Regions from separate parts of the Homo sapiens genome. Here region 2 is linked to region 1. Evidence: promoter capture Hi-C in 16 types of primary human blood cells and fetal thymus (Javierre and others, 2016). All regions are on one chromosome and are shown on one strand. Each heading gives the region's core, a stretch centred on a gene start or on the middle of the fragment in contact. The rest is flanking DNA. Distances are from core to core; before and after follow the strand shown. Region 1 holds the start of SDSL (serine dehydratase like). Region 2 overlaps RBM19 (RNA binding motif protein 19).

Region 1 (2,700 bases), core at 120-2,619:
GCCCAGAGATGGGCACGAGCTGCTCAGGTTCACCCAGTGAGATGGTGCAGAGACAAGACATGAATTTGACCATGTCATTCCCCCCACCTAAAGCCTTCTGTGGCTCCCTAGTGCCCCTGGGTAAGGTCCAAACTCTGGATTGGTACAGGCATCCCTGTGGACTCTGATCTCTGCCCACATCTCCAGCCTCAACCCCACTTGCTTCCCCACCCCTGCCTTCTCCCTCCCAGCCCCACTGGATACTACCCTGACCCTGGAATATATCATGTTTTTCATTTCCAGACCTTTGCACTCCCTGTGCCTGACTCCTGGCTCCACTCAGACTTCCCCTCCTCCAGGAAGCCTCCCCAGCCCCCCAGGGCCAGGCGGGGTGCCTGCTCTGGGTTCCACAGCCCTGCCCCACCCTGCCAGCTGCTAACATCTGATAGCACTAATAAGTGCTCTCTAATGGCCCTCTCTAAGGGCTTTGTGAAGGCAGAGGACATGCTATTTTGTTTGAGGCCAAAGTTCCAGGGATTGGCACATAGTAGGTGTCCAATAAACATTTAATGAATGAATGAATGGTCAGTCATTCATCTGAGTAGCAAATAATTGCTTGGGTTCTCATGCTGCGTGTAAAATATCCGAGACGGAGAGGTGCTTCAGACAAAAATATACCTTTCCCATGTCACAAATAATAATTATAATAATTGTTTCCTTGGCCAGGTGCAGTGGCTCACGCCTGTAATCCCAGCACTTTGGGAGGCAGAGGCAAGCAGATCACCTGAGGACAGGAGTTCGAGACTGGCCTGGCCAACATGGTCAAACCCTGTCCCTACTAAAAATACAAAAATTAGCTGGCGTGGTGGTGGGTGCCTGTAAACCTGGCTACTTGGGAGGCTGAAGTGGGAGAATCGCTTGAATCCAGGAGGCGGAGGTAACAGTGAGCCGAGATCGCACCATTGCACTCCAGCCTGGGGGACAAGAATGAAACTGTGTCTCAAAAAAAAAAAGTTCCCTTGTCCTTGTTTTCCCATCCCAGACCTAAGCTGACCCCAACAGTGGTTCAGCATCCGGGACAATCACTAGACCTAAAATGAGAAGACATGGAGATGCCTGCATCCCGGAAGAGATGGCCCAGGGCCAGGGGTAAAGGCTGTCTCTGCCCCTTGCTGTCTGGGAAGCTTTGGCCAAATAAGTTCCCTTTTCTGAGTTTCAGTTTGCTCATCTGTCAAATGAGACAGGGTGGTGCATGAGTCATAGGCAGTGCCCGGGAAAGCGGTGAGGGTTGCTCTCATCCCCTCTCCTCCTCCGTCTTCACCCGGAGGCTTAGGGTCTGGAGCTTTCTCTTTAACAAAGGAGGAGGGACCAAGGTTGCCGGAAGCTGCCTGAAGCTGGACAGAGCCGGTTCCTGGAAAGAGCTGGTTCCCTGGCAGGCTGGAGGGCAGGAGCTGGGGCCACGCTGGTCTGGGATAGTTGGGCAGGGAGGTAAGGGGTCTGGGGCCAGCTGGGGCCCCTGGGGCTCAGTGTGTGTGTGAATGAGAGGCTGATGAGAGGCTGCAGGAGTTTGGGAGGCTTTGGGCAAAGTCCAAGCTGAGCAGGTGGGAGTGAGAGGGCCTGAGCGTGTTCTAGGCCCTCCTGGGAATGTCGATTGAATTCAGGGTGCCCTGCAGAAGAAAGTGTTGTGCTGGGGACCCTGAAGGGCGAGAGTGGGTTCTGCCTGCCAGAGGGGCAGGGTTGGGCATTCTGCCAGCCAAGGGGCCAGCCCGAGGTGTCCCAGCCCTGGCACCAGGGATTTGGCTGTGGAGTGCCACCAAGGTGGCCTCTGGGGAAAGGCTTTGGGGACAAGTGAGGTGGACAGCACTGGTGGTCCTTACCTCAACTCATAGATGTGACAGGTAAGGCCCAGTGACAAAAGTGACTTGGCCAAGGTTGGCATGACTGGGACCTGAGCCTGAGCCCCCTGCTTTCCCCTGGGTTATTCCACAGCAGGGAGACCCAGGTCCCCCATTTCAGCCCTGGTGGCTGCCATACGGGACAAGAGGTGTGTGTCCCTGGGCCAAGACAGCTCAGTCCCAGACCTCAGGTGCCTGATGGGGTCTGGGGTTGATAAGGCTGTTGGCAACTTGGGGCTTTTTCATTTAACTGATGCCTGCTGTCCTCTTGTGAGTCAGTATAACCAAGAGGGCTGGGGAAGCCTGGAAACTGAGCCAGGAGCATTTGGTTCCAAAGGACAATTGGCAATAAATATTAAATGCATGCAGCTTTCATAATAGTAACGATAACACTAGTATATTAGAGAAAGTATAGCATCGCGGTTAATAGCACAGATGCCAAAGACACTGCCTGGTGTGAATTCTGGCTATGCTGTTTCTAACTGTGTGAACTTGGATAAGTTACTTAATCTCTCTGGACCTCAGGTTCACTGTTTATAAAATGGAGTCAATGGTGAGTTAATGACTCATCTGTTGTGAGCCAACAGGTGGCTCACACCTGTTATCCTAGTGTTTTGAGAGGCAGAGACAAGAGATTTACCTGAGGCCAGGAGTTCAAGACCAGCCTGGACAACTCAGCAAAACTGCATCTCTATAAAAATTAAAATATCAGCCGGATACAGTGGTGCATGTCTACAGTTCCAGCTACTCAGGAAGCTGAGGTGGGAGGATTGCTTGAGCCCGGGACTTCAAGGTTACAGTGAGCCATGATCGTGCCACTGCACTC
Region 2 (2,700 bases), core at 141-2,640, 530 kb after region 1:
AGTTCCACTGGGGCAGGCCCCAGGCTTGGAGGTCAGGTCAATTTTCCTGATGGCATGCTCCACTCAGGGCATCCTTACCCTGACAACGGGGCCCACATCAGGTGTTCAACCTACATCTCCAATCCTCCACAACCTACAGCTGGCCTCTGAATAGACATGGGGAGACACTGCGGGGATCTCAAAGGTATCAAGACCTCCCCTCATCCTGAACCCTCCCTTCCTGCCCTTCAACAATGGTAACTCCACAAACAAACACAGCCTGTTGTGACCAAGCTGGACTACAGGCCCTCAAGCCCATGGCCTGAGAAATAACAGCAACAACAACACTAACCTTGACACTATCAAATCTATTTGGTGCTCAGCTTGGATAAGAAGACTTTACATAATTAAGAGTTCAGATACGGAGGAACGCCGTGTAGGTATATTCATCAGGTGAAACCTGTACAGTTACTCAATTCCAATACCGAGTGGCATGACTTTGGACAGCAAGGGAGTATCTCAAAAAAGTCATCCGAATTGCTTCAATTCTGAATTTGGAGAAGTTAGAGAGTTCAGACAGCAAAGGATGCCAGTGATGCTATTAATACCTTTTACTTCCTGCCCTGCGAATCCCTGCATTCATCATGTCACTGAATCCTCACAGCAGCTCAGGGGTACTTGGTCCCATTTTACAGATGAGAAAACTGAGGCAAGAGATGTGGAGTCGTGTGCACACTGGGACTTGAACCCAGGACGTCAGAGTGAGAGCCCGGCTCCCATAGCCGCTGGGCTATCCACGGCCCGGAGGCCACACCCCTACCATATTTGGAGAAGAGCTTCTCCAGATCCTCCTCGGTGCTGGTGTAGGGCAGGTTCCGTACAAAGAGCCTTCCGGATTCGGCCAGGTCCTCCTCCTCTTCGTTCTCCCCGAGTATCCGGCCTTGCCAGGATTTGGTGGTATTCTTTGGTGCACCCTTGGTGGTGGGGACGTTCTTTTCCCTGAACACCTCGATGTAGCGCCCACCTGCAATGAAGAGGAGTCAGGGCTCCAGGGGGAGGCCTAGAACTTGCCAGCAACTCCTTGCTGGTGACTCCAAACTCTTCTCTGCTGCCTTCCAAAAAACACAATCAAGGTGGCAGATGACAGCACCCAACACCTGCCCTGTCACCTGAGGCGGCAGCATAAGCCAAGCCAACACCAGGCCTGAACCCAAATCTCACTCACCCTGCCAGTTCAGCTTCAGCCCTGGAGGGAGCCTGCCTGAGTTATCCCAGACCACGGTGATGCATTCTCTAAACTCCGGGCTGTATTCTCTGGCACTGCTTGCTGTTCTGCCTTGGGAAGGGTCTTAGGTGACAGCCCAGCCCTGGGTACTTACCTGCTGATGATTTATTTGCACGCATAGCCCCTGTGCCTGATTAGGGTGCTATTATCACTGTATCCTGCACAGGCACTACTAGGTGCTCAATAAATACCCACCTCCTGACTTGCTAACAAGATTCCCAAGGCTCTCCATCCTTCTCTAACACAACTCATGTCTTCACTGGGGTTGATGGCTGGATTCAAATCACTTGTCTTGGCCAGGGATTGGTCAAAGAATACATCCCTGGGTATTGTTCAGAAGACCTCCCAACTCCAGGGAATTTGCACGTGCTGTTCCCTCTACTGAACATCCTGTCCGTAGAGCCAGAGCCTACACAACTGTAGGTTTGTGTCCCAATGTCACCCCTCGGTGAGGCCAAAGCAGACAGGACCCTGTTTAAAGCCAAGCCTCCTCCAATCCCTGCCCTCCCCAGGACCCGTGCCTGCTGTGTGTTTCCCTGTAGCATGGATCACACATTTAACCACCTGTCTCTCCCTCCTAAGTCAGTTTACTCTCTGTCAGCCCCGAAAGGGCAGGGATTTGGGTCTGTTTGCTCCCTGCCATGTCCCCAGTGCCTAGAACAGTGTCTGCAGAGACACTGCATTCTTGGTGGTGGTGATGGTGCTGGTACAAGAACGTGTAAAGGAAATGAAGGAACGAAGGAACGCTGTAACACAGAGAGAGCACATGGCCAGGGCTTCCTTACCCATGTACTCCCGGTTGCATTTCAGAGCTTGCTTCACTTCCTCTTCATTGCTGAAATCCACAAAGATGTATCCTGACAGAGGACAATGACAGAGGTAAAATCTGCAGGCCTTGCAGACACTTGTGGTGGTCCCCAGAGGAACACCCATACTGTGCTAGGAGCAGAAAGTGAGGGAGAAACCTCTACCTTGGTCAGATCTCCAAAATACAAAGGGTCTCCCTCTCTCTGTCTCCCACCCACAGCCAAATTTCCCTCTGCAGGGAGTGTACAGACCCCAGCCCGGTGTCATGGATGAAGATGCTGAATGCCAGGAGTTGGAAGCCCAGGAGGCCTTTCTGTCTCCCTCCAAGCCTCACCCCCATCCCCCGACTGGCACCTGCTCTAAGCCATTCTCTGGAGAAGGGCCTGTGGCTACAGCATGAGGACCCACCTAGGCGCTGGAAGCACCTTCTCCACACCCACTCTGCTCCTGGGCACCTGAGGCCTTGACTTGCACAAAAAAACAAGCAAATGGGGGAGTCTTTCCTCTAGCATGAGAGGCTCTGCTTCCTGACCTCTTTGGGCCTCAAACCTGTGAGGCAACAAGGTGAGGGGTGAGGACCATTCCCCTGCTTTTCTGGAGCATTAAAGAAATACTCCGAGGGGCACTCG

What was found. Contacts are between HindIII fragments. The CHiCAGO score rates a contact against its expected background, and 5 or more counts as called.
Region 2: a fragment that was not itself captured here is called in contact with the fragment with the promoter of SDSL in region 1 in 2 of 17 cell types (M0 macrophages and M2 macrophages); the score reaches 6.3 in M0 macrophages.

What each region holds. Positions count from the first base shown.
Region 1 is chr12:113,421,011-113,423,710 of GRCh38, forward strand. SDSL (serine dehydratase like) reads left to right here and starts at 1,370. Exons shown (of 8, transcript NM_001304993.2): 1 at 1,370-1,467. The HindIII fragment of the contact is 13,599 bases long and covers 1,162-2,700 here.
Region 2 is chr12:113,948,034-113,950,733 of GRCh38, forward strand. It overlaps RBM19 (RNA binding motif protein 19), which reads right to left. Exons shown (of 24, transcript NM_016196.4): 9 at 2,050-2,121; 10 at 800-1,003. It also overlaps the pseudogene TRE-CTC16-1. Among named protein-coding and RNA genes, the nearest start is that of RBM19, 17 kb to the right of the region's middle. The HindIII fragment of the contact is 3,542 bases long and covers 1-2,700 here.